Regions from separate parts of the Homo sapiens genome. Here regions 2, 3, 4 and 5 are each linked to region 1. Evidence: promoter capture Hi-C in 16 types of primary human blood cells and fetal thymus (Javierre and others, 2016). All regions are on one chromosome and are shown on one strand. Each heading gives the region's core, a stretch centred on a gene start or on the middle of the fragment in contact. The rest is flanking DNA. Distances are from core to core; before and after follow the strand shown. Region 1 holds the start of TOR1B (torsin family 1 member B). Region 2 overlaps GPR107 (G protein-coupled receptor 107). Region 3 holds the start of MIR12126 (microRNA 12126). Region 4 overlaps GPR107 (G protein-coupled receptor 107). Region 5 overlaps GPR107 (G protein-coupled receptor 107).

Region 1 (2,700 bases), core at 22-2,521:
TGGAGCCGGGGGCTACAGCAACACAAAGGAAAGAGAAGCAGAGGCCAGAGTTAGTGAGCAGGTCACCCGGACCAGTCCGACTGGCCTGCAGACGAGATAATAGCGGGTTCTCTTGCCTGGTACAGTTTTATCTTCTGCTCATGAGGGAAGTGCAGAGTCGATACAAACAGGTGGACAAAGTTACTCTTCAGACCTTTTGGGTGAAGATTTTCAGCCACAATTTGACTGACAAAATTCTTGCCTGTGCCAGCCCAGCCGTGTAAGGAAAGGGTCAGTGGTTTCTTGGGATTTTTGTTGTTCCTGAAGCCAGTCAGCGCCTTGAAAATCACTTCCGTGGCTAGATGCTGTCCAAACAGCTTCTCCTCCAAATCCAGCTTGAGAGCTGCAAGAACAGCCCCAGAACAAAGAGAGAAACAGACCTTAAAAATGCATCAGCAACGCAGCACTTTCTTAGCTGGCCAAAGCAAGAAGCACAGATTATCCAGGGACACAGCAGGGTGTCTGCCACACCCTAGGGCCGAGGCAGTCAAACGATGCCACTTTCAAGATTATGTGGAGGTCCTTAACGCTTCGGGGTCTGATAAGGAAGCTAAATGTTCATTCATTCAGAGATGAACCATCGCTTGACTGAGCGCTTGCTAATCCCAGCCACCCTTGCTGACCTGCAGGAAAACCAGGGGCCAAATGTGGGCTTTCTGGGCGACGCAGCACGTCTGAAAACTACTTAATAGGGTTGGCAGGGCGCAGAAGGGCCGCCCGCCTACTTTCCGTTTCTTCCACCTGTGATCCCAAGGAACGGGAGCTTTAGAAAGGCGCTGGGGCAGCCCCACGATCTGGAGACTGTTTGCGAAGGCACCGCTTCTGCGTTCCCGCGAACGGTTCCGGGGCCGCCCCATCCGCTCCCCGCCCACCCCAGCTGGGACCACCGCCGTCTAGATGCCACGGGCCCGGTCCGTGCCAGGCGCCCACGAGGCCGTCCCTCCGCGCCCCCGCGCCCCCGCGCCCCCCGCAGCGCCGACCCACAGCTCGCGCGCGCGCCGTACCCGAAGCGTTGAGCGGCCGCTCCTCGCGGCAGCACTCGGCGAAGCGGCAGTAGATGTCATTGTAGGACAGGTAGCCGGTGATGGCCGACGCGGCCCCGATGGCTAGGCCCACGGTGATGGGCTCGAACGCCGCCACCACTCGGGCCGCCAGCAGCAGCGCCAGCGCCGCCGCGCCCCGGAGCCACCCAGCCCGCAACATCCCGCTCCTCGAAGCCCGCAGAAGCCACTGAGCCAGGCGCCCCGCGGCCAAGCGGCAGGACGGACTTCCTCTCGTGCGTCACTTCCGCCCCGCAGACCCGCCCACTCCCTTGGGGGCGGCCATGTTGGTGAGGGGCGGAGAGGAGGGCGGTGCCATCGTTCTTGGGAGTGGTCCGAAGGTGTAGGAGACTGTTTTGTTTCCCTTTTCTTTTAAAAAAATTTTTTCGGGCCGGGCGCGGTGGCTCACGCCTGTAATCCCAGGACTTTGGGAGGCCGAGCCGAGATCACGCCATTGCACTCCAGCCTGGGCAACAAGAGTGAAAAAATATCTAAAAAAAAAAAAAAAAATTTTTTTTTTTTGGCCGGGCGCCGTGGCTCACGCCTGTAATCCCAGCACTTTGGGAAGCTGAAGCGGGCGGATCACCTGATGTCAGGAGTTCGAGACCAGCCTGCTCAACGTGGCGAAACCCCGTCTCTACTAAAAATACAAAAAATTAGATGGGTGTGGTGGCGGGCGCCTGTAATCCCAGCTACTCGGGAGGTTGAGGCAGGAGAATCTCTTGAACCCAGGAGGCGGAGGTTGCAGTTAGCCGAGATCGTGCCACTGCACTCCAGCCTGGGCGACAAGAGCGAAACTGTCTCAAAAAAAAAAAAAAAGGCTGGCCGGGCGCGGCGGCTCACGCCTGTAATCCCAGCACTTTGGGAGGCCGAGGCAGGCGGATCACGAGGTCAGGAGATCAAGACCATCCTGGCTAACACAGTGAAATCCCATCACTACGAAAAATAGAAAAAATCAGCCGGGCATGGTGGCGGGCGCCTGTAGTCCCAGCTACTCGGGAGGCTGAGGCAGGAGAATGGCGTGAACCTGGGAGGCGGAGCTTGCAGTGAGCCGAGATCGTGCCACTGCACTCCAGCCTGGACGACAGAGCGAGACTCCGTCTCAAAAAAAACAAAAAAAAGCCAAAAAAAATTTTTTTAAACTTTCTTATATTTTTTTCTTATCTGATATGTATATTGGGGACAGGGTCTGGCTCTGTCGCCCCGGCTGGAGCGCAGTGGCAGGATCTCGGCTCGCTGCAAACTCTTCCTCCCAGGTTCAAGCGATTCTCCCATCTCAGCTGCTGGAGTAGCTGGGATTATAGGTGCCCGCCAACACGCCCAGCCAACTTTTGTGTTTTTAGTAGAGACGGGGTTTCGCCATGTGGCCCAAGCTGGTCTCGAACTCCTGACCTCAAGCGATCTACCTGCCTCCGTCTTCCAAAGCCTGGGGTTACAGGAGTGGGCTTATGGCTGGATTTGTTTTCTTCAGAGCTTCTCGGAGCCCTCAAGCTTTGCTTTGTTATCCCTCCCTTCACTTCGCCGGAGGTATAATGTGCGTTTCTTGGGTCGGCCCACCCGCCTGCCTTCTTCCTGAAACAGTTGCGAACTCTCCGTGCTGCGCCCTAGACTGAGCACTGGG
Region 2 (2,700 bases), core at 53-2,552, 280 kb before region 1:
AAATAAATAAATAAATAAATAAACAGGAATACCTTTTTTGCCTTTCATTTTAGGATTTTGTTTTTTGAAAAGAAAATACCCCATATTGGCTAGGACATGATAATGTGCCCACTATTCCTACATATTTCTGATAAGAATATAAATCCACACAACTCATTTGGAAAGGAATTTAAAAATATACATCAATATTCTCAAATGCATTCATATCCTTTGAACCAGAAATTGCAATTCTGAAAACCATCTTAAAGAACGTTCGCTATACGAAGACAGTTCTATGCATAAAGAAGTCCACTGCAGCAATATTCATAATCACACAAAAATGGAAATGTGTCTCCTTAAGGGGAAAGGTTGAGCAAATTACAGTATCTGCTTAACAGGATATATGATAGGTATGAAATGGGCTAAAAAGTAATCAGGCATGTATATAAAATTATAAGCATGACTGAATTTTAAAAATCAAATGTTCTAGACTTATGAAACAAGCTTATAAGAAAACATAAATTACTAAAATTCTAACACTGGGAATAAGGAGAAATGACTGTTGTTTTTCCATCTGCTTCAGATTTTCCACATTTTTCTTTAACATTTACGTATTTTTGTGTAACTTCCAAAATATAATGCTAAGACGACAACAGATCATGTTTTACTTTTACTTTTAATTAGGAACAAAAAAGCTACAAAGCAGGTAGTGAAAACTGAAAGCCAGTTTCCACCTTACGGTTTACCTTGTGTCTTCTGGGTCTGGTTGCCTGCTGAAGCAGGGTTAACATTAGGCTCCTGGCTCTGACCAAGGACTTTCTCATCCCTGCTGAAGATGATCTTTGGTAACTGGGTACCAGCTTCTGGTGGAGACTTTACTCTTACCCTACATTCAAATAAGACAGAAGGAAAAAAGGTCAAAGCAGTGCTCCTGGCCACTGAGCACGCTGCGTGTAGGCCCTGTGCCAAGCTCATGCAGTCCTTATCATGTTCTACAATGTAGATTCTATTATCCACATTCTACAGATACCAAAACTGAGGCTCAGAAACGTTAAATAACTTGCCCAAGGGCACCAAGCTAGGAAGTAGTTGGACGAGGATCCAGGTAGTCTCTCTTAAGCCTAAGATCTTAGTAACCACACAATTCTGAGGTACATCTTTCTCCTTAAGTATCGTTAAAATGCTCAGCAAATTGGTGCACAAGAGAAACGGACAAAATGTAAAACATCAGTAAGACTTTAAAGTGAAATCCAGGCCAGGCATGGTGGCTCACGCCTGTAATCTCAGCACTTTGGGAGGCTGAGGCGGGTGGATCACTTGAGGTCAGGAATTCAGGAACAGCCTGGCCAACATGGCAAAACCCTGTCTCTACTAAAATTACAAAAAAAAACTGGCCGGGTGTGTTGGCATGCACCTGTAATCCCAGCTACTTGGGAGGCTAAGGCAGGAGAATCGCTTGAACCTGGGAGGTGGAGGATGCAATGAGCCAAGATCGTGCCACTGCACTCCAGCCTGGGCCACAGAGCGAGACCCCGTCTCAAAAAATAAAGAAAGCAAGTGAAATCCAGGGAAGCACGAGAGGGCAGTGGCACTGTTAGTTGCCTCCTAATATCCATTTCCACCCTTCCCCCTTCTCATGAGACCCAATTTTGTTTACCCCATCCCACCCAGGAGGGGCCAGTGACAGTTCCCATGACTGAGTGGATGCCCAACCTAAGCTGGCACATTCAAGCACTTCTCATTCTACCTGGAGGAGGAGCCTGCTCTCTGTCCCTTGGCTGGATATGAATGATGGAGCAGAGCCACCTTGTGATGGCTGGGAAACCTGCCTGAGGAAGAAGCTAACACTCAGGATGGCAGAGCAGAAAGATGAAATGCACCAGAGTCCCTAACATCAGCAAGCCACCGCAGGCCTGTCTCTCGCCTGCCCCACTGCACATAGGTGAGGTAATCAATGTCTTCACTATTCACGCCAGAGTCTAAGTCAAGTCTTTTGTTGCTTGCTTCCAAAAGTAGACTGACCAATACAGGAGACTGTCAGATCAATCTTCTTAAATGAAAACAGAGGTTATCACGGAGAATATTTTAAAAGTTAGGGTCTACAATGGTTTTATGACAAAGCATTTTTTTTTTAGAAGCTTATTCATTAGTCTTCTTACCTCCAGTCTTGTTCATCTCAAATCCATCCTCTTCTGGGCTGCTAGGAGTCTACCTTACAGGCAAGTCTGAGCACATGATTCCTACCTTAAAGGCTCCCTCAGCAATTACAAAGTACGCAGTTGGAAGTATGCTGAACTTGAAAACACAAAGTCTGATAATTCATCAAAGTTCAACATTTTTTTTTTTTTTTTGAGACGGAGTCTCACTCTCTCACCCAGGCTGGAGTGCAGTGGCGCGATCTCGGCTCACCGCAAGCTCCGCCTCCTGGGTTCACACCATTCTCCTGTCTCAGCCTCCCGAATAGCTGGGACTACAGGCGCCCACCACCACGCCCGGCTAATTTTTTGTATTTTTAGTAGAGACGGGGTTTCACTGTTTTAGCCAGGATGGTCTCAATCTCCTGACCTCGTGATCCGTCCGCCTCGGCCTCCCAAAGGGCTGGGATTACAGGCATGAGCCACCATGCCCGGCCTCAACATTTTCAAAGAGGCTGAATTGTCAGAAATCCTCACCAACAATCTCATGAGGCAGATACCATCATCACGAAGTAGGTAAGGACAC
Region 3 (2,821 bases), core at 156-2,655, 440 kb before region 1:
CGAACTCCTGACCTCAAGTGATCCACCCACCTCGGCCTCCCAAAGTGCAGGAATTGCAGGCATGAGCCACCGCCCCCGGCCTTCCTTCTTGAACCAGGCTAGCATTCATCACAGGCTGTGGCAGAAGCCTGGCACTGTGGCTGCCCAGCATATACACTCCAGGCTCTCATTCATCCCTGTGGAAATGGGTGAAGGATTCTGGTTAGCTTTAGGCTTCTGCCTAGAAATCACTTAAGCAGCATCCAGCTTGTATTAGTTGATCTGATGGACGAGCATGGGGGTAGAATCCGAACCTCAGGGTTCCCTCTGATTCCCTTCCCATGACTGGGAGCTCCCTTTGTTTTTTGCTTTTTGTTTTTTTTGAGATGGAGTCTCGTTCTGTCACCCGGGCTGGAGTGCAGTGGTGTGATCTCGGCCCACTGCAACCTCCACCTCCTGGGTTCAAGCGGTTCTCCTGCCTCAGCCTCCCGACTACCTGAGATTACAGGCACACGCCACCATGCCCAGCTAATTTTTGTATTTTTGGTAGAGGTGGAGTTTCACCATGTTGACCAGGCTGGTCTCGAACTCCTGGCTTCAAGTGATCCGCCTGTCTCAGCCTCCCAAAGTGCTGGGATTACAGGCGTGAGCCACCACGTCTGGCCTGGGAGCTCCCTTTCTCCCTCCTTCCAGGCCAGCACTTGCACCTTCCCCTGCAGGTCCCAGCTCGGGCCCCTGGCATTCCACAGATCTGCCCCTTCTAAGGCAGGAAGGGCCTCTTGATGCCCAACATAGGAATTGGGTCTTCAGAATCCTCAAAGAATAAAGTGGGCACTCCACAATATCACAAAGACTTCCCCTCACCTCTGGGGGCAACCAACAGTCCAGTGACTAAAACGGGACCTACTCTCAGTCATCTGACAATGATACCAAAGGGACTCTTCCCACCCTTCTCCCTGACTGTCAGAAAAAAGCTTGTTTTACTCTTTATCATATTTTTTTATCCCCAAGATCTGCTCATGTGGATGGCTTATTTTAGGTTTCTGGGAGGAAGGGAGCAATTTCTGAGGAAGGAAATTGTAGAGACAAGAAAAGGTCTGGTCCCCAAGTCTTGAAACCCCTGGCAGAATCCTTCCTGAGCTCAACCCTAGGCCAGCCTGCCCAGTCCCCTTCCTGTGGTTACCCAGTGAAAACCCAACTGGCCCGGTCCTCAGGGGCTGCCCTGGGCTCCCCAATAACCTAGAGCCTCTAGGTCCCTAGTGCTTCTGCAAAAGAAAGTCTTTCCCACAGGAGTCCCTCTGGCTGGGACCCTCAGTCCCCTGAGCCCTTGGAGGAGGAGGGCATATTGGGACAGGAAGAGGGAAAAGGCAGAAGACGGGTGGGAAAGGCATGAGCAAGCAGTAGTTACACCAGCACATGGCACTGTATGGTTGTTTATTAAGTCACTTTGGCAAACATTGAGAGTTTCGATGCAAACATTTGCAGGTGGCATCAGGTCATTGAAAGCGACCCAGCAGATCACTGGGTACATTAGGGAGAATATAAATTGGGCTGTTGACACAGAGACTCAGGATGGCTTAATCAAGATAAATGTGTGTCTCTCTTCCTCCTAAGAGCTCCAGTGTAAATGGTCCAAAGCTGGTGTGGCAGCTCCATGGGGTCAAAGACCCAGTTCTAGGAAGGCTTGTTTCAGAGTCCTCCATCCAGTCAGCAGGAAGAGGGAAGAGGGAAAGTTATGCTCATTGTTCTCATCCTATTGGATAGAACTGGGTCACATGGCCGCACTCAGCCACAAGGGAGGCTGGGAAATGTAGTCCTTTGTTCCACATGGCCCTGTGCCCAGCTAAAAAGAGATAAGGGGAAGAAGTAGAAAGCTTTTCCATACCTACACAAGCTCATTTTGCCTAAGTTCAGGGGGCCTTCCCAGCCCCTTTCCATGCCCACTGTCCTGAACCAGTTCCTCCAGACCAATGAACCTGGAGGGTAAGTTTCTGCCTCTGTACTCCCTGGGCAGGAAGATGGCAGGGAGGAGGGGGCCACTGTAGGGCAGGGATCCACATTGCATTCCCACTCCCAGCCCGACTCCCTACTCTTCTCCTTGTCATCTCCTCTGTATGCCTGGGGATGCCCTGAGCTGGGCTTTGGGGAGTACAATTTAGAGAGATACTTTCTAATATGCAGATGTGAGTTTGGGGCTTGGCAGGGTCAGTGGGGACAGGGTGGAAGGCCCGAGGTGGGGAGAAATGGGACCTCTAGGATGGTCCCTCTAGGAGGACTCACTGGTGCTATCACACCCAGGGAATAGCAGCCAATCTGAGCCATCCTGATAAAGCAGGTGGCCAGGTCTGTGCCTCTACTGAGCTTCAGCCCACAGTAAGCCATCCAGCGCAGGCTGGGCCAGGGGGTGAGTCAGCACAGGCTTTAGCCTGACTCGAGCAGAGCAAGGGACCATGACCCATCATGTGCCCTCAGCAACACCATTTCTGAACCGTGGTCCCTGTAGGCACCACGCCCAAGGCTGCTGGAAAAGACCTGAGCTTCCTCCACCAACAGCTCACCCCCGTTCAAGCTCACCCTCTGCTGGAAACATTGCCCCAGCTGCCCTCACAACGGCCTTCTGAACCAGAGCTTGGTATTTCCAAAGACAGGCGCCCGTGCACAGATTTACTTTCAGTGCTTCGGTGGAAACAGCACATTGTGTGGGTATGTAAATTACCTCCAATCTCTGCCTCAGGGACAGTCCCCAAGTGTGTGAAACAGTCTAGTCAGGAATCAGCCCTCCAGAGGGTGTCATATTAGCATTTTAAATATGTACTTTTATTAAAACCTACACCACAGATTT
Region 4 (2,753 bases), core at 209-2,708, 290 kb before region 1:
TGGGTGTGGCGGTGCACACCTGTAGTCCCAGCTACTTGGGAGGCTGATGTGGGAGGATCACTTGAGCCCAGGAGGCAAAGGCTGCAATGAGCCGTGACTGTGCCATTGCACTCCAGACTGGGTGACAGAGCGAGTCCCTGTCTCAAAACGGTCTCAAAACAAACAAAAATTAAGCCAGGAGTGGTGGTGCGTCCCTATAGTTTCAGCTATTCGGGAGGCTGAGGTGGGAGGATCACTTGAGCTCAGGAGTTTGAGGCTGCTGTAAGCCTTGATTACGCCACTGCTCCAGCCTGGACAACTTAGTGAGACCCTGTCTCAAAAAAAAAAAAAAAAACCCAAAGAATACAGGCAGCCACAAGAGGGGAAATGGTTAAGTCTCTAAAATGATAATCCACATCACCAATATTCAGAGAAACGCAAAATAAAGCAAGATACCACTTTACACCTATCAGATTGGCAAAAATTAAGATGTCAGTATTGGTAAGAATGTGGAGAAACAGCAAACCTTATTATGTATGCACCACTGGTAGACGTATAAACCTATATGCCACACTGGAAGGCAATCTGGCCCTTAACGAAATTAACTGATGGCTGGGCGCAGTGGCTCATGCCTGTAGTCCCAGCACTTTGGGAGGCCGAGGCGGGAGGATCTCTTGAGGCCAGGAGTTCAAGACCTGCTTGGCCAACACAGTGAAAACCCGTCTCTACTAAAAATACAAAAATTAGCCCGGCATGGGCGTACATGCCTATAGTCCCAGCTACTCAGGAGGGTGAGGCAGGAGAATCGCTTGCACTCAGGAGGTGGAGGTTGCAATGAGCCAAGATGGTGCCACTGCACTCCAGCTTGGGTGACAGAGTGAGACTCTGTCTCAAAAAAAAAAAAAAAAAGAAAAAAAAGAAAAGTAAAGAAAAGAAATTAACTACCCATGGCACAGTGTGCTTCCTTCTGGGACTGCAGCTCGGAGGCTGCACAGATCCACAGGGGATCTTTGGAGGTACATGCCAGCACTGGCTGAGGTAGCAGGGAGATGTAGGCAGTCCAGGCGTGTGTCTATCACTAAAGGACCAAAGCAGTCAAACGTGAGGACACAGAGCATGGGATGCTGTGGAGTAGGTAAAAATCAATGAATGAGATGCACACTCAGCCACATGGCTAGATCGCAGAAAGGATAATACTGAGTAAAAAATGTACAACAACGTCTATAGATATTTTATGTAAACTTAAAATAAATGCAACACCAGTAAACAGTACTTATCTATAAGAATATAGAAATATCCAAAAATCAGGCCAGACGCAGTGGCTCACGCCTGTAATCCCAGCACTTTGGGAGGCCGATCACCTGAGGTCAGGAATTCTAGACCAGCCTGGCCAACGTAGTGAAACCCCGTCTCTACGAAAAATACAAAAATTAGCCGGGCATGGTGGCAGGCGCCTGTAGTCCCAGCTACTCGGGAGGCTGAAGCACGAGAATTGCTTGACCCGGGAGGCGGAGGTTGCAGTGAGCTGAGATTGCACCACTGCACTCCAGCCTGGGGCACAGAGTGAGACGAGGTCTCAAAAAAAAAAAAAAAAAAGTCCAAAAATGTATATGCAACACATTTGAGCAGTTCTCCACTACTGGGAAGGAGTGGGAGAGGGGACAGGAAATGAAGGGGAACAATAGAGCAGGAGAGGGGCCTGGCACCAAGTGAGAATGAGAGTGTACCACAAAGGGATATCAGTTTCTGGGCTCATTTCCTCCCTGGTACTTTCCTGTTCCAGTGCCCACCTACTTGAAGGTCAAAAGGGAAGTCAAGGCCAGAATAGCCTGGAACTACTGAATGCCAATGAGATTTACCCAGAGTGTAAAACCACCCACCACAAAGAGCTGTGCTCATTCACACTCTGGCAACCTTGACTTGCAGTCCATGGTTAGAATATCTACGATGGGGCAGAGATGTGATGGAAAGAATACTCACTGACCTCGGCTCAAATACTAGTTCTACCTACACTTGAAGTTGGGAGGGGCCTGATACATACTAGCAAGCAGACCCGAGTTCCAGTCCCAGGTCTGTTGGGTGACACTGGCTCTCGTTTCCCCTCTCTGGGCCTCAATAAATGAGGCAAAGATCTCTTAGTCGTTTCCAGCTTTCAGGGGCCAGTGAAATGCGCCTGGCGGCCTTGGTCATATGCCTTTATATCATGTGGGTTTCCAGCCTACCAGAACTGACTCTAAGACTCCCGGGAAAACATGGGCAGGACTTAACTGACCTTCCCCCATGCACACTATACTCCAACAAAAATTACAGATGAGACTTGTACACAATAGGTCAGCCTCATTTAACCACAGATTGAAAACTGTGTTATCACGGTCTGGGTGCACTGGCTCATGCTGGTAATCCCAGCACAATGGGAGGCCAAGGCAGGTGGATCACGAAGTAAAGAGATCAAGACCATCCCAGCCAACATGGTGAAACCCCGTCTCTACTAAAAATACAAAAATAAGCCAGGCATGGTGGCGGACGCCTGTAGTCCCAGCTACTTGGGAGGCTGAGGCAGAAGAATCACTCAAACCCAGAAGGCAGAGGTTGCAGTGAGCCAAGATTGCACCACTGCACTCCAGCCTGGCGACAGAGCGAGACTCTGTCTCAAAAAAAATAAAATAAAGAAAACTGTTACCACAATTTGATACAAGTGAACCAGTGACAATGACTATTGCCACCAATAACTAAAGGAAAATTAAAACACCACTGAACCCCTGGCTACTAAACTA
Region 5 (2,700 bases), core at 31-2,530, 310 kb before region 1:
GTTGGCCAGGCTGGTCTCGAACTCCTGACCTCAACTGATCCGTTTGCCTCCGCCTCCCAAAGTGCTGGGATTACAGGCATAAGCCACTGTGCCTGGCCCCAAAATAAAAAACCTCTTTTCTAAAAAAAAAAAATGAAAAAAAAAAAAAAAAAAAAGAATGAGAAGACCAGAATTATTTTTGTAATTCTCTTTAATGTCTAGCTTAATAACATGCAGCTGGGTTCTCATATTTGATTCAATCAGCATTCAACTTGCTGTGAGGGAGTATTTGGTGAAAATATATGAAGAAAATCTGGCCCCATACAGATAGATGTAGGCCTTTTCAGATTACTGTGAATAGTCTGTGATTCTACATTAAAACCTGACAAGAGGTTGCTTCTAAAGATGAGGGAGGTGGGGAATCTGAAATTTATCAATGAACTTTCCACACTCTTACATTAATAAACTCCACTGGTCCATCCTGCACTTTCAGGAGAGCTTTTACCCCCATGCATGACTATGGAACATCCTGCACTGGCCAGGTGGAAGACAATGTTTCAGTGTGTTATGTAGATCTCCCAGATACAGAAACATTTTATTATAGAATTCTTAAAAAAATCACATTGTTAGTATCACCTCTGCTTACATCATAAGTCTTATAAGAACTGGGAAACTGGCCGGGTGTGGTGGCTCACACCTATAATCCCAGCACTTTGGGAGGCCGAGGTGGGTGGATCACTTGAGGTCAGAGTTTGAGACCAGCTTGGGCAACAAATTGAGACCCCGTCTCTACAAAAAATATAAGAATTAGCCGGGCATGGTGGAAAGACCTGTAGTCCCACCTACTCAGGAGGCTGCAGTGGGAGGCTCACTTGAGCCCAGGAGGTCAAGGCTGCAGTGAGCTGAGATTGTGCCATTGCACTCCAGCCTGACTCAAGGAAAAAAAAAAAAAAAAAAAAAGATCTGGGAAACTGTCAGTTAGGAAACTGTCAGGCTGACAGGGATAAACACAAGTTTTCTTTTATCACTGGCAACAAATACTATTAGTTGTTTTTGTTGAAGTAATATGTTCACTTTGTTCATTTTCAAGAAAATGTCCACCACAAACCCATGTCTGTGTCACCATAACAGTCATTCTTCCAGATAAAAGCAGCTTGGCCAGGCACAGTGGCTCATGCCTGTTATCTCAGTACTCTGGGAGGCCTAGGTGGGTGGATCACTTGAGCTCAGGAGTTTGAGACTAGCCTGGGCAATATGACAAAATCCTATCTCTACAAAAAATACAAAAATTAGCCAGGCATAGCAGCACACGCCTGTAGTCCTAGCTACTTTGAGGGCTGAGGTGAGAGGATCGGTTGGGCCCAGGAGGTTGAGGCTGCAGTAAGCCAAGATTACACCACTGGACTCCAGCCTGGGCAACAGTGCAAGACCCTGTCTCAAAAAAATAAATAAATAAAAAACAACAAAAAAATAAAATAAAAGCAGCTAGTTCAGCTTGCAATTCAAACAAGTGCACACGTACTTTCCCTCAAGGCCACACCCATCACACTTCAGGCCCAGCAGCAGTGCTGTGTGCACACCTCCCATGCTGTCTCACAGAATATTAAAAGGCAAGGGTTGAGATTTAATCACATCAACAGTTTTATTATTTCAAGACCATTCTTAAGTGATATGAGCCTTTTTCACCCCCTGTGAGTAGGTGACAGTAAAGAATGCAGTGGCTACTGGCAGATTCTGGTACCACAGCCTGGAATCACGTGACGGTGCCGGCAATTTCACCCATCATTGCTTTTCACCATCAGGCAAATGTCAACAGCACAAGAGACTCACACCGTATGATTATGAAAATAGTTTTGATCCCGAGGACCCCCTTGAGAACCGCTGCCCTAACAAATGCCTCGCATGGTCGCGGCTCCTTTCAGAGCACGGCGGCACCTCGGAATGAAGCCGTTCCTCCATCAACTCTGCAGCCAGCCAACCGGGATTGTTTAAATACTTCTGAAGCTCACATGAAAGCTAAGGCTCTTCAGAATACATCTTCTGACTTTTCCTCAGAAACACAAGGCCCAAAAAAAGGATGGTGAGCAGCAGAGACTGTTAATTAAATTTACGGTGTGTATCTCGACGCCAGTCCTATAAGGTAATGACACTGGAGAAAGAGAAGGGAACGCGGATGCGGGCTCAAGGGCAGTCAGAGCCAGTAAATCTTAGCAGGCGAGACAGAGTGGAGCCAGCGCTAGGTGTGTCTGTGCGAGACTCAATTAAGCTCCCTCTCGGAGGATGCAGTGCAGCTGTGAGTCTCAGTGACCGAGGACCTGAGAGAAGCCACTGCGCGTGACAGGAGAGACAAAGACGCGGCTAAAGGACAGTGGGCAGCTTCGGCCTCAATGCTTTCCTTTAGATTTCCCTCAGGTTTGGTCAAAAGGAATCCAGAGACAACAAAGTAAAAGCCAAACAAACACTCTCTGAAAGCTGTATTCACCCCAAAACTGAAAACTGTATTCACCCCAAAACTGAAAGCTGTATTCACCCCAAAACGGAAAGCTGTATTCACCCCAATGCAGGAAGGAAAACTACAAATGGCATGTCTCTCACTTGCAGTTACTGGGCCTGGACTGCACCTAAACTAAAAATGAGATTCTTTGCCATAGTGTTTTGTTGTTGTTGTTGTTTTGAGATAGGGTCTGGCTCTGTTGCCCAAGCTGGAGTACAGTGGTACAA

The links. Contacts are between HindIII fragments. The CHiCAGO score rates a contact against its expected background, and 5 or more counts as called.
Region 2: a contact is called between a fragment that was not itself captured here and the fragment with the promoter of TOR1B in region 1, in 6 of 17 cell types (total CD4 T cells, total CD8 T cells, naive CD8 T cells and 3 more). The highest score is 7.4, in total CD4 T cells.
Region 3: a fragment that was not itself captured here is called in contact with the fragment with the promoter of TOR1B in region 1 in 4 of 17 cell types (megakaryocytes, activated CD4 T cells, erythroblasts and 1 more); the score reaches 6.1 in megakaryocytes.
Region 4: a contact is called between a fragment that was not itself captured here and the fragment with the promoter of TOR1B in region 1, in 8 of 17 cell types (total CD4 T cells, naive CD8 T cells, megakaryocytes and 5 more). The highest score is 7.8, in total CD4 T cells.
Region 5: a contact is called between a fragment that was not itself captured here and the fragment with the promoter of TOR1B in region 1, in 1 of 17 cell types (megakaryocytes). The highest score is 6.2, in megakaryocytes.

The regions. Positions count from the first base shown.
Region 1 is chr9:129,801,755-129,804,454 of GRCh38, reverse strand. TOR1B (torsin family 1 member B) reads right to left here and starts at 1,271. Exons shown (of 5, transcript NM_014506.3): 1 at 1,044-1,271; 2 at 117-382. The coding sequence starts at 1,242. RefSeq lists silencers at 882-1,001, 1,062-1,191. The HindIII fragment of the contact is 11,148 bases long and covers 1-2,572 here.
Region 2 is chr9:130,077,795-130,080,494 of GRCh38, reverse strand. It overlaps GPR107 (G protein-coupled receptor 107), which reads right to left. Exons shown (of 18, transcript NM_020960.5): 5 at 726-865. Among named protein-coding and RNA genes, the nearest start is that of GPR107, 25 kb to the right of the region's middle. The HindIII fragment of the contact is 1,634 bases long and covers 486-2,119 here.
Region 3 is chr9:130,239,720-130,242,540 of GRCh38, reverse strand. MIR12126 (microRNA 12126) reads right to left here and starts at 1,154; the gene lies at 1,053-1,154. RefSeq lists enhancers at 1,617-1,911, 2,433-2,612, 2,693-2,821. The HindIII fragment of the contact is 900 bases long and covers 956-1,855 here.
Region 4 is chr9:130,095,291-130,098,043 of GRCh38, reverse strand. The region is part of intron 9 of GPR107 (G protein-coupled receptor 107); the gene reads right to left. Among named protein-coding and RNA genes, the nearest start is that of GPR107, 43 kb to the right of the region's middle. The HindIII fragment of the contact is 8,854 bases long and covers 1-2,753 here.
Region 5 is chr9:130,111,485-130,114,184 of GRCh38, reverse strand. All of the region lies in intron 14 of GPR107 (G protein-coupled receptor 107), which reads right to left. Among named protein-coding and RNA genes, the nearest start is that of GPRACR, 31 kb to the left of the region's middle. The HindIII fragment of the contact is 3,979 bases long and covers 1-2,700 here.